Linked DNA regions of Homo sapiens: region 1 is linked to region 2. The links are contacts of gene promoters, found by promoter capture Hi-C in human tissues and cell types (Jung and others, 2019). All regions are on one chromosome and are shown on one strand. The core of a region is centred on a gene start or on the middle of the fragment in contact, and the rest is flanking DNA. Distances in the headings are between cores, read along the strand shown. Region 1 holds the start of AZGP1 (alpha-2-glycoprotein 1, zinc-binding). Region 2 holds the start of CPSF4 (cleavage and polyadenylation specific factor 4).

What was found. Contacts are between HindIII fragments. The study calls those that stand out against the background at their distance.
Region 1: a contact is called between the fragment with the promoter of AZGP1 here and the fragment with the promoter of CPSF4 in region 2, in 1 of the 25 tissues and cell types used here (spleen).

What each region holds. Positions count from the first base shown.
Region 1 is chr7:99,971,300-99,977,942 of GRCh38, reverse strand. It overlaps AZGP1 (alpha-2-glycoprotein 1, zinc-binding), which reads left to right and starts at 1,912. Exons shown (of 4, transcript NM_001185.4): 1 at 1,912-1,998; 2 at 5,937-6,197. The coding sequence starts at 1,923. The HindIII fragment of the contact is 25,198 bases long and covers 1-6,643 here.
Region 2 is chr7:99,434,924-99,441,515 of GRCh38, reverse strand. It overlaps CPSF4 (cleavage and polyadenylation specific factor 4), which reads right to left and starts at 2,573. Exons shown (of 8, transcript NM_006693.4): 1 at 2,331-2,573. The coding sequence starts at 2,433. It overlaps ATP5MF-PTCD1 (ATP5MF-PTCD1 readthrough), which reads left to right. Exons shown (of 9, transcript NM_001198879.2): 3 at 6,248-6,592. It overlaps PTCD1 (pentatricopeptide repeat domain 1), which reads left to right and starts at 2,718. Exons shown (of 8, transcript NM_015545.4): 1 at 2,718-2,824; 2 at 6,248-6,592. The coding sequence starts at 6,274. RefSeq lists silencers at 2,279-2,578, 6,077-6,224 and enhancers at 2,839-3,128, 4,425-4,950. The HindIII fragment of the contact is 24,338 bases long and covers 1-6,592 here.

The sequences.
Region 1 (6,643 bases), core at 663-3,162, 540 kb before region 2:
GAATTGTGGATGGCAACTCCAGCAGTTGCTGCTGTTGCAGTAACCGCAATTAGTCCTGCAATGATGGCAATAAGAGTAAAAATAAATCTCTTTGTTCTTTTGCGGATACCTTTAAGAACTTCATTGACTATGTGAATAGAGGGGGAAGACTCCCATGGACGATGTAAAGAAACTGGTATCCATACCCCCTCCCTAGCCCTTACCAAGAGAGTACTTGTAGTGGGATTAAAAGTAGCATCAATGCACGTGAACAGCTTACAGTTATCACATTCTATAGTTTGTGTATTGGGAATGATAATTATATTTCCAACCAACAGCATGTAAGGGGGTTTGACATAGCTCCTGATGGGTATCACCCGTTCAGATATGAGGGTGATGTTGAATGTGGGTGTTTTGGTATTAGTGTGAAGGAGTTGATAGGTAGTGTTCCATATCCTTATTCCTGTCATAGCTGCAGCTAATTTTCATAGTTGAGGATGTTCTGGGGTAACAAAGGGATGAATCATTTTTGGTCTAGGAGGAGTAATGCCTGCATCCATCCATTTAAATAGGTAAGGGGACACCCATTGTCTCAGCCTGTATGACTGCCATCCATCCTCTACATAATCTAACAAATAATTAAACTCTGAGCATGAGGTATTTTTGCTGGAGCAATCTTGCCAATAATGCCCTTTTGGAGCCCAATCAATAACAATACCTGCGGCTAGACTTTGGAGCACAACGGCCTTAGGAGCATTACAATTATTCCATAAAATTGAAGTCACTATAAAAGGTCCCTTTGTAGGTTTCTTTAACCAAAAGAGAGGCTGGGCACAGTTGCTCACACTAGTAAACCCAGCACTTTGGGAGACCGAGGCGGGCAGATCACGAGGTCAGGAGTTCAAAACCAGCTTGGCCAACATGGTGAAACCCCTGCCTCAGCTTCCTGAGTGCTGGGATTATAGGCATGTGCCACCACGCGCAGCTAATTCTTGTATTTTTTCAGTAGAGACGAGGTTTCATCATGTTGCCCAGGCTGGTCTCGAGTACCTGACCTCAACCTGAGGTGATCCAACCACCTCAGCCTCCCAAAGTGCTGGGATTACAAGCATGAGTCACCGCACCCGGGCCCCAGTCACTTTAGAATAGCATGTTGCTTTGTATTCGGAGGGTCTCTCTGCAAATAGCCCATCAACACTGAGCGTGCCTGGAAAGACCTGGTTTTCAAATAACTGGCTTCGTCTGTGTAAAACGAGTCTTGTTGTATGCATTAAAAATTATCTTGGCTGGGCGTGGTGGCTCACGCCTTTAATCCCAGCATTTTGGGAGGCTCGTTCTGTTGCCAGGGAGGCTGCAAAAGGAGGATGCGGCTATTTCTGCTTCCATCATGGAAGGCTGGGATTCCACAGGCACAGAAAGGAAGGAGGGAGAGATGGGAATGTGACTGTCCTCCAGACACAGCCTCTGGCAGGATCGGATGTGGGAGAGTGAGGGTCCCACCCCAGCTGGGGTCTACCCAGGTCCATGTCTTGGACATGTTGAGAGTTTTTCTGGAAGGCAGGGATACAGTGTGGTCCAAAAACACACAAATGCCCCTACTGGCCCAGGGGTTGTCACAATAGACTGGAAGGGTGACACATCCCAGGCGCTTGCCACCCATCACACGCACCTCCTACCCACTGGCATCCTTCCACCCCAGGCACACACAAAGCCTCAGTCCAGAGATCAACTCTGGACTCAGCTCTGAATTTGCATATCCTGTGTGTAGATTCATTCTTCATAACCTCTGCCCAGCCTAGCTTGTGTATCATTTTTTTTTCTCTATTAGGGGAGGAGCCCGTCCTGGCACTCCCATTGGCCTGTAGATTCACCTCCCCTGGGCAGGGCCCCAGGACCCAGGATAATATCTGTGCCTCCTGCCCAGAACCCTCCAAGCAGACACAATGGTAAGAATGGTGCCTGTCCTGCTGTCTCTGCTGCTGCTTCTGGGTCCTGCTGTCCCCCAGGAGAACCAAGATGGTGAGTGGGGAAAGCAAGGGATGGGTGCTGGAGAGGACTGGAAGGAGGTGAGGAACAGGACATGTGGCTGGGAGACAGGCTGGATGCAGCTGGGATACCCTGGCATACGGCAGGAATGGGTGCCCAAGGCTGTCAACTCCCTCAGCTCACACACTTCCAGGAGCATTCAGGGAGCCTCTGCGCTGGCCCGAAATAAGACCTTCAGGAATCTGAATCTAAAACCCCTAGTTTACAGTGAAAACAAAGACTCCAAAGACCAAGCGACCTGCTTGGGGTAGACAGTCAGGACGGAGTAGGAACCATATGCCTGGAGCTGCTTCTGCTCCTGTTCCTTCCCTCCTTCCGATGGCTGGGTACACCTGCCTGACGCTGAGGGAAAGAGAGAGCAGCCCCAAGGGGAAAGTGGGAAGGCAGGTTGGCTGGAGGGATGGTGCTAGAAGGAAACCCGTGCCCAAATCCCACACTCAGACACCACTGCAGTGGGTCTGGAAGGCGAGTGGCTGGAAGAGAAGAGAGTGGGAGCTCCGGGAGATCAAGAGTCACTCCTAGGATAAGGGAAGGAGGCTGTTTGTGGCATGAGAATGTGCAGGATAAAGACATGGAAGCGAATGGCTTCTCAGTTGTGTGAGTTTAAAATTCATGACATTTACAAATTGTCAGAAAAGGTGTTATATGTTTGTTATATAACAATCACTTTGGAATGTTAATCTGATTCTGTGCCAAAATCTGAATTACTCAGGGTTCTCCAGAGAAACAGAACTAATAGGTGGTACACATATACATATATATGTACGTACACATACATACATACACTGTATACACATGGATACACACACACATAGGAAGAGATTTACATATATGTATACAAAAGAGAGAGAGAGTAGAGATTTATTTTAAGAAATTGACTCACACTATTGGGAGGAGTAACAAGTCCTAAATCTTCAGAGCCGGCCAGCAGGCTGGAGACCCAGGGAAGAGTTGATGTCTTAGTCTTGATTCCAAGGGCAGACTGTAGGCAGAATTCTTTCCTCTTTAGGGGACATCTGAGGCTTTTTCTCTTAAGGCCTTCAACTGATTGGATGAAGCCCACCACTATGGAGAGTAATCCACTTTACTCAAGGTCTACTGATTTTTTTGTAAATTAAAAAAAAAACTGTGGGTGCATAGTATGTGTATATATTTATGGGGTACATGAGAGGTTTTGATTCAGGCATGCAATGTGAAATAATCACATCATCAAAAATGAGGTATCCATCCCTTCAAGCTTTTATCGTTTGTGTTACAGACAATCCAATTATACTTTTTTGGTTATTTTAGTTTTTAAAAGTATTTGATTATTTATTTATTTATTTATTTTTGAGACAGAGTCTCACTCTGTCACCCAGGCAGGAGTGCAGTGGCATGATCTCGGCTCACTGCAACCTCCGCCTCCCAGGTTCAAGCAATTTTCCTGCCTCAGTCTCCTGAGTAGCTAGGACTACAGGCACCTGCCACCACACCTGGCTAATTTTTTTGTATTTTTAGTAGAGACGGGTTTCATCATGTTGGCCAGGCTAGTCTTGATATCCTGACCTCGTGATCTGCCCGCCTTGGTCTCCCAAAGTGCCGGGATTACAGGTGTCAGCAACTGCGCCTGGCCTCTCTTTTGGTTATTTAAAAGTGTACAATTAAATTATGATTATTATTATTATTTTTGAGATGGATTCTTGTTCTGTCACCCAGGCTGGAGTGCAGTGGCGTGATCTTGGCTTACTGCAAACCTCCGCCTGTTGGGTTCAAGCAATTATCTTGCCTCGGGTGTACACTGCCACACACGGCTAACTTATGTATTTTTAATAGAGATAGGGTTTCACCATGTTGGCTAGACTGGTCTTGACCTCTTGACCTCAAGTGATCCACTCACTTCAGCCTCCCAGAGTGCTGGAATTACAGGCACGAGCCACCACACCTGGCCCCAGTTAAATTATTATTGACTATAGTCACCCTGTTGTGCTATCAAATAGTAGGTCTTATTCATTCTTCTTTTTTTTTTTTTTTTTGTGACAGAGTTGCCCAGGCTGGAATGCAGTGGTGCAATCTTGGCTCACTGCAACCTCTGCCTCCCGGGCTTAAGCGATTCTCCTGCCTCAGCCTTCTGAGTCGCTGGGACTACAGGTGTGTGCCACCACGCCCGGCTAATTTATGTATTTTTAGTAGAGATGGGGTTTCACCATGTTGGCCAGGCTGGTTTCGAACTCCTGACCTCAAGTGACCCACCTGCCTCAGCTTCCCAAAGTGTTGGAATTACAGGCATGAGCCACCACACCTGGCCCCAGTTAAATTATTATTCACTGGAGTCACTTTGTTGTGCTATCAAATAGTTTTCTAACTATTTTTTTTGTACCCATTAACCACCCTCCCAATTTCCCCCCAACCCTGCCACTACCCTTCCCAGCCTTTGGTAACCATCCTTCTACTCTCTATGTCCATGAATTCAATTGTAGGGTCTACTGATTTAAAGGCTAATCACATTTAGACACTCAGGAGCAAGAATAATTTTAGTAATTGAACTAGGATTCTGCCATATGACCTCCAACATCATTAGCACCTGTGTAAATTGTATCATAAAATAATTATGGAACTATTATGGAAATGTCCCTCTCTCCCAGATCCCACCTTGTACCAAAATGCAAGGTACAACCCCGGGAATTCTGAGCTCCATCCTAGTCTTACCCTGTGCTAATTCAGTCTGGGTCATTTCTTGAATTTTCTGGTAAATTCTCCTTTCTACCCTTTCTAACTATATGTATTTGTCAGGTTAAGCTAGAAGTGTTAATTTTTTTTTTTTTGAGATGGAGCCTTGCTTTGTCACCTAGGCTGAAGTGCAGTGGCATGATCTCAGCTCACTGCAAGCTCCGCCTCCCGGGTTCATGCCATTCTCCTGCCTCAGCCTCCTGAGTAGCTGGGACTACAGGCACCCGCCACCATGCTTGGCTAATTTTTTGAATTCTTAGTAGAGACGGGGTTTCACCATGTTAGCCAGGATGGTCTCGATCTCCTGACCTCGTGATCCACCCGCCTCGGCCCCCTAAAGTGCTGGGATTACAGGCGTGAGCCACTGAGCCCGGACGAAATGTTAATTTGTTTTTTTTGAGACGGAGTCTCACTCTGTCATCCAAGCTGGAGTGCAGTGGCATGATCTTGGCTTGTTGCAACCTCTGCCTCTCTGGTTCAAGTGATTTTCCTGCCTCAGCCTCCAGCATGACTGGGATTACAGGCCCGCACCACCATGCCCAGCTAATTTTTGTATTTTTTAATAGAGATGGGGTTTCACCATGTTGGCCAGGCTGGTCTTCAACTCCTGATCTCAAGTAATCTGCCTGCCTTGGCCTCCCAAAGTCCTGGGATTACAGGCATGAGCCACGGAGCCCAGCCTAGAAATGTTAATTTCTAACGCATGTCAGATTCCATGCACACTGGGCAAGGTTCCATTCCTCCATGGGGTGACTCAGGGATCCAGGCCAATTGCATATTGAGACTCTTTCATATTATCCTGTGGCCTTCAAAGTCGTCACCTCTAGGGATGAGAAACAAAAGGGACAAGCCAGCTGGTAGGGTCTTGGACAAGAAGAAAGACATCACTTCTGCTCACATTCTCTTTTGACAAAACTCAGTCACATGGTCCCAATATATCTTCGAGGTGGCTGAGTAATGTTATCTTCCTATGTGTCAAGCAGAGGAAATAATGTAGTGAAGACACAGGATGGTCTCTGAAATATCATCTCAGGCATGAAAGTAGAGCATATTCACTTGAGTGAGCCTCCAGTGGTGTGAAGTTGATGGCAGGAGAAAGAGCTGGGGAAGAAAAGGCCAGTGGCAGGTCTCCCCTCCTAGCCCTATGCAGCCCCACAGTGGGACCCTTGCATGGACCTCAACCATCAGAATCTTTTCTTTTGCAGGTCGTTACTCTCTGACCTATATCTACACTGGGCTGTCCAAGCATGTTGAAGACGTCCCCGCGTTTCAGGCCCTTGGCTCACTCAATGACCTCCAGTTCTTTAGATACAACAGTAAAGACAGGAAGTCTCAGCCCATGGGACTCTGGAGACAGGTGGAAGGAATGGAGGATTGGAAGCAGGACAGCCAACTTCAGAAGGCCAGGGAGGACATCTTTATGGAGACCCTGAAAGACATCGTGGAGTATTACAACGACAGTAACGGTCAGTGAATAACAGACCACAGGGGTGGAAGGTCTAACCCAAGAGGCAGCCCCCCCAGTGTGAGTGGCAAGGGATCAGCAGGATGGAAATAGTCCCAATCCCAGGGGAAGAACAGGAGACACAGCAGAAACACAGACATGTCCACATCCCACCCACCCCACAGCACAGGTGCTCCCCGCTTCCCCATCAATTGCCCCATCCTCATCCCAGGCCTCAGGTCACACAGGAAGTGATGGCAGAGTCACTTCCTATCCAGGCACCTATGACCTCTCACCTCCACACCCCACCCATCGGAGGCTGATACCCCCGTGAGAAGGCATCAGACTCACCCCTGTCCAGGGAGGTTGCCTGGAGAGTGAGCCACTCTCAAAGTCACTCAGACCTGGGCTCACCTGGTGGTTCTGCCAGTCCTAGCTGTTGACAGTGAAACGTTCCCAAAATATCTG
Region 2 (6,592 bases), core at 1,324-3,823:
GTGGCCTCACTAGGCTTTAACTGAACAGGATATGGACAAGCAGCGAGTGTGGAGGGTGCCTACCGACTCTGAAGCCCTGGCTGGAGCAACACCCATGGCTAGGTGTGTCCCGGGCCTCAGGAACAGGTATGTGGGCCCCTCGCCACTGTACCTCCCCTCACAGGCTTGTGGATGTGTCAGATGGCAGAAGGGTGGGAGGAAAAGAGCTGCCCTGCGTGGGTGGTTCCATGGTCTCAAGCTAGTGCCATCAAGACAGGAAAAGGCCGGCTGGGCACAGTGGCTTATGCCCGTAATCCCAGCACTTTGGGAGGCCGAGGCAGGTGGATCATTTAAGGTCAGGAGTTCAAGACCAGCCTGGCCAACATGGTGAAACCTCATCTCTACTAAAAATACAAAAATTAGTTGGGCGTGGTGGTGGGCGCCTATAATCCCAGCTACTCAGGAGGCCAAGGCAGCAGAACTGCTTGAACCTGGGAGGTGGAGGTTGCAGTGAGCCGAGATCGCACCATTGCACTCCAGCCTGGGTGACAAAAGCAAAACTCTGTCTCAAAAAAAAAAAAAAAAAAAAGACAGGAAAAGGCCACATGTGCAGGGATGATCACAAGAGTCGAGGGGTAGGTAAGAGGGGGTGTGTGTGTGTGAATTTGAGCAGCTGCTTTTTAGGGAGTGTACAGTGGTGATGGTGTTTGTGCCTGTGTCAAATAGGGTGGTCTGATGATGTCTCCTTATAAGCACTATCTTGTCTTCTTGAAGACTTAATTAATTTCCAATGAAACTATCTTGTACAGAACTATCACCATGTAAAGTTGTGGGACAGGCAGGAAAAAAAAAAAAAAAAAAATATATATATATATATATATGCCAGGTGCAGTGGCTCATGCCTATAATCCCAGTACTTCCGAAGGCCGAGGTAAAAGGATCACTTGAGCCCAGGAGTTCAAGACCAACCCTGGGAAACATGATGAAATAGTGTCTCTACCAAGAAATACACACAAAAAAATTTGCCAGGCGTGTTGGTGCATGCCTGTGGTCCCAGCTACTTGGGAGACTGAGGTGGGAGGATTGCTGGAGCCTGGGAAGTCGAGGCTGCATTGAGCCATGATTGCGTCACTGCACCCAGCCTGGGCGACAGAGGGGCCCCTGTCTCAAAAGCAAACAAACAACAACAACAAAAACACATAAAGGGACAGACTCAGAGGTCACATGTGCATGAGAAGGTGTGACCGCCTGAGGGGAGTGAGGCTGCTGGGAGCGGTGGGAGACCCCGCTGGTAGTTGTGGGCGACAGCACACAACACTGGAGAGCTTGCCCGCCTCTGCTATGCACTGAGTGATTGTCAGCAAGTCCCTTCCCCCGCTTGGGTCTCAGTTTCCCCATCTGTGGATTGAACTCAGTGACTTCCACAAGCCCCCAAACTTTAAGGTTATAGCATTAGATTTCAAGTATGTCCAGATAGGAAAGAAGACACAAAGAAAACTACTGGTTTCTTTTAAAGTACAAGATATCCCACCGAGTAGGAGGTGGGAAGCCAGGAGCCACCATATGAAGGGGAGCAGTGAAGGGAGTTCAGGCCAAGGGTCCACACCAGCTGCTGGGTGTGATGAATAACTCAGAGTTGGGGTCCAGAAAAAAGTAGGGACGGGCCAAAAACTAGGGATGAGCTCCCAGGAGAGTGAGTCCTAGAAGGGAGTTTGAGAGTCTAGCTGGGGTCTCCTACAGAAAGGTGGTCCTTCCCTCAGCACATCTCCTCCAACCGCCTAGTTTTGATGAAATCAAGAAGAGACGCTCAACGTAGCGGGTGTGATATCCTAGTACTCTCCTGCAGTTGGGAGAGTGTTGAGGGAGAGTTCCAATCCAGGATAACCCACCCTTATTCAAGAATTAAGCGAACAGACAAGGTCTACCCTCCTACAGATTACCTTTGAACAGCCGCAGAGGGCCAAAGATCCGAGGCAGTGAACTCCTGAGTCCGAGTGAGGGTAAAAGGAGTCCCCAGACGGTGGAAATGGGGGCCTGGGAGTCAGGAGTCCTGAAACCAAGGGGAGCGTCCCGGGATCCAGAAGAGGAGGTCTCAGGATGGAGTGGGAAGAGTCTCGGGACCACAGATGAGGGAGTTCGGTAACTAAAGGGGAGGATCCCAGGACCCGGAGGAGGTGGGAGGGACTCTCAAGACCTAGAGGGAGGAGTCCTGCGACCAAAGGGGAGGGGTCCCAGGATCCAGAGGAAGCCGGGGGAGGTCTCAGGACCGAGGCGAGGGAGTCCCGGGATCACAGAGGAGCGGGTCCCGGGTTCGAGTCGCTCTTGCCCTCCCGCCCGGGCCCCGCGCTCACTGTCCATGCCGGGGAAGGGCAGCGGCTGCGCCCCCAGCTGCTGCTCCACCGCGATCTCCAAGTCAAACTTGATGTGGTCCACGCTGGCGATGATTTCCTGCATGGCGGCGGCGGCGGCCCCACCGGCCCGGCTCCCCCTCGGTCTCCTGCAGCCTTCTCGCCTTTACCCGCCGCCGGCCCCGCCGCACACACTCCTCCTTCGCTTCGCCTCGCCGCCGCCGCCGCCGCCGCCCGAGGGATGCCGGGAGCGCCCGGAGCCCGCGCCGGCCCTTGCGCCTGTCCAGGCACTGCCAATCGAGACTCCGCCGTTCCGCTAGTCCCAGCTAGCCGCCAGCCGAACACCGGCCTCGCCAGAAACCTGAAACCAGCCGCGTGAGTCGGCGACGCGGATTGCGCCTGCGCGCTTGGGGAGAGGGGGACCCGAGGAAGAGACTGGTTCGCCGCGGGGACCGGGCAGGGCTCCCCGTCGGAGTGCACTGCGCCGGACACTTCAAGTGAGTTCCTGTGTGATCCTCGCAGGAGCCCCGGGACCCGGGCCAAGACACGCCAGAGGGGAAGGAAGTGCCCGAGCCGGGATTGGAGCCGGGGGCGTCTGAGGAGGGAAACTGAGGCTGCAGAAGTCCGTGTGGAGAGGGGTCGGCGTTGGCCTGAGGGTCCGGGTGGGCCTCTGAGGAGGGGCGGGTCTCTCCGAGGAAGGACGGCCGCAGCGTGTCTCTAATTCAGGGTTTTTTCTCGCTCTGTGGCCCAGGCTGGAGTACAGGGGTACGATCATAGCTCACTGCAGTCAACTTCTCAGACTCAAGCGATCCTCCCACCTCAGCCTCCCGAGTAGCTGGAACTACAGACGCTGCACCACCACACTTGGCTAATTTTTAAAATTTTATTTTTAATTTTTGTAGAGACGGCGGGGTTGGGGGGGCGGGTGGCGGGTCTTGCTATGTTGCCCAGGCTGGTCTCGAACTCCTGGCCCCAAGCCCAAAGCGATCCTCCTGCCTGGGCCTCCCAAAGTGCTGGAATTGCAGGCATGAGCCACTATACAGCCTAATTCAGGGTTTTTTTTAACCAGGGTGGGGTAATGAGCTTGTGTAGGAACAAAATGCACCCCTATTTTTCTCTATGTGAAGTATAGCATTTCCTTTCCTGATTGCTGGAGCAGCCTTAGCAGTGCCTGAAACTGTGAGGGTGAGTGTAAATGATAGTTCCAGATAACAGTTTGTGCAGGGCCAGGCATGGTGGCTCACACCTGTAACCTCAGCACTTTGGGAGTCTGAGGCGAGAGGATCACGTGAGGTCAGGAGTTCGAGACCAGCCTGGACAGGATGGCAAAACCCCGTCCCTACTGAAAATATAAAAATTGGCCTGGAGTAGTGGCGCGTTCCTGTAATCCCAGCTACTTGGGAGGCTGAGGCATGAGCATGGCTTAAACCCGGGAGGCAGAGGTTGCATTGAGCCGAGATTGTACCACCCCACTCCAGCCTGGTGACAGAGTGAGACGCAAAAAAACCCAGTTTGTGCAGCAACTACAAGGTGGTATCTTAAGCTGTCACTTACATTTATTACTGCTTTGAAATTATGATAGAGTCGGCCGGGCGCGGTGGCTCACGGCTGTAATCCCAGCACTTCGGGAGGCCGAGGCGGGCGGATCACAAGGTCAAAAGATCCAGACCATCCTGGCCAACATGGTGAAACCCTGTCTCTACTAAAAATACAAAAATTAGCTGGGCTTGGTGGCATGCGTCTGTAGTCCCAGCTCCAGGGGAGGCTGAGGCAGGAGAATCGCTTGAATCCGGGAGGCGGAAATTGCAGTGAGCCGAGGTCACGCCTGAGGACAGAGTGAGAGACTGTCTCAAAAAAAAAAAAAGAAAAGAAAAGAAATTATGATAGGGTCTTGTTATTTCATGCATTGAAAATAAGCATCTATACTAGTATAGCAGAAATTTGTTTTTAAAGCATTTTGATGCCATTTCAATATCATTGCTTTTTGTTTTGTAATTCTGTGTATTGTAATTAATGCACGTAAGGCAGGGCATGGAGGCTTACGCCTGCAATCCCAACACTTTGGGAGGCCAAGGCTGGAGGATTGCTTGAGGCCAGGAGTTCTAGACCAGCCTGGCAACATAGGGAGACTCCATCTCTACAAAAAAATACAAAAAATTAGACAGGTATGGTGGTGTGCACCAGTAGTGCTAGTTAATTGAGAGGCTGAGGTAGGAGGATCACTTGAGCCCAGGAGTTGGAGGTTGCAGTGATTGTGCATTTGCACTCCACTGTGCCATCGCACTCCAGCCTGGGCAACATGAAGACCCCATTCCACAAAAAAGAAAATTACATAAACACCATGCTTGTAAGAAGGAGTGGCAGGGCTTGCCAGATGCAGAATGATAAAGGCCCCCTGCACTAGTTTCACAAAAGGTGCTGGTCAGGACAATCATCAATGCGTTACATGGACCTGAGTTCAAAGCCAGCCCAGCCCAAGCTGGCCAGTCTCACCCACTGCACTGCTGCAGGACCCCAGCAAGTCTCTCCCCTTGCTGGGCCTAGTTTTTTGTTTGTTGTTGTTGTTGTTGTTTTGAGATGGAGTCTTGCTCTGTCGCTCAGGCTGGAGTGCAATGGCGCGATCTTGGCTCACTGCAACCTCTGCCTCCCACGTTCAAGTGATTCTCCTGCCTCAGCCTCCCAAGTAGCTGGGATTACAGGGGCACGCTGTCACGCCCAGCTAATTTTTATATTTTCGGCAGAGATAGGGTTCACCACGTCAGGCTGGTCTCGAACTCCTGACCTGAGGGGATCCACCCACCTTGGCCTCCCAAAGTGCTGGGATTACAGGCGTGAGCCACCGCTCCTGACCTACTGGGCCTAGTTTTTAATCTGTTCAATCTGCCATCACTTGTAAGACTTTTCCAATCGCAACCTTCTAATATAACCAGACTCTAAAATACTTTAGGCTGGGCATGGTGGCTCATTGCTGTAATCCCAGTGCTTTGGGAGGTCGAGGCGAGAGGATTGCTTGAGTCCAGGAGTTCAAGACCAGCCTGGGCACATAGCAAGACCCTGTCTCTACCAAAAAATAAAATTAGCCAGGCATAGTGGCTCACACCTGTAGTTCCAGCTACTCGGGAGGCTGAAATGGGAGGATCGCTTGAGCACAGGAGGGTGGGGCTGCAGTGAGCTATGTCTGACCTGAACCTAGGCTTTCTAACCTCTGGGCCCATACTTCTTATTTTATTTATTATTATTATTTTTTTTTTTTTCTGAGACAGAGTCTCACTGTCACTCAGGCTGGAGTGCAGTGGCGCGATCTCAGCTCACTGCAAGCTCCGTCTCCTGGGTTCAAGCGATTCTCCTACCTCAGTCTCCTCAGTAGCTGGGATTAGACGTGTAGCACCACACCCAGCTCATGTTTTTTGTATTTTTAGTAGAGATGGGGTGTCGCCAGGCTGGTCTTGAACTGATCTGCCCGCCTCGGCCTCCCAAAGTGCTGGGAGTGCAGGCATGAGCCACCGCCCCTGGCCTGTTCTTTTTCTTTCTTTCTTTTCTTTTTTTTTTCGAGACAGAGTCTCACTCTGTCACCCAGGTTGGAGTATGGTGGCGCAATCTCAGCTCACTGCAAGCTCCATCTCCCAGGTTCAGGTGATTCTCCTGCCTCAGCCTCCTGAGTAGCTGGGATTACAGGCGCACAGCACCAAGCCTGGCTAATTTTTGTATTTTTCATAGAGACGGGGTTTCACCATGTTGTCCAGGCTGGTCTCAAACTCCTGACCTCAAGTGATATGCCAGCCTCGACCTCCCAAAGTGCTGGGATTACAGGCATGAGCCACCGCGCCTGGCCTGGGCCCATACTTGTAACCACTTCTTTCTTTCTGCCTTTTGTTACTAGGAACTGAGTTGACTCTCTTATTTTTCCTGATATATTCCAGGCCCTGGAGGGACAGGAAAGCCAGAAATGGACTTCGTGAGACTCGCTCGACTGTTCGCCAGGGCCCGCCCCATGGGACTGTTCATCCTGCAACACCTGGACCCCTGTAGAGCCAGGTGGGCAGGAGGCAGGGAGGGGCTGATGCGGCCAATGTGGGCGCCCTTCAGCAGCTCCTCCTCTCAGCTGCCCCTCGGCCAGGAGCGTCAGGAAAACACGGGCAGCCTGGGCTCTGACCCGAGCCACTCCAACTCCACGGCCACGCAGGAAGAAGACGAGGAGGAGGAGGAGAGTTTTGGGACCCTCTCTGACAAATACTCCTCCCGGAGACTATTCCGCAAATCCGCAG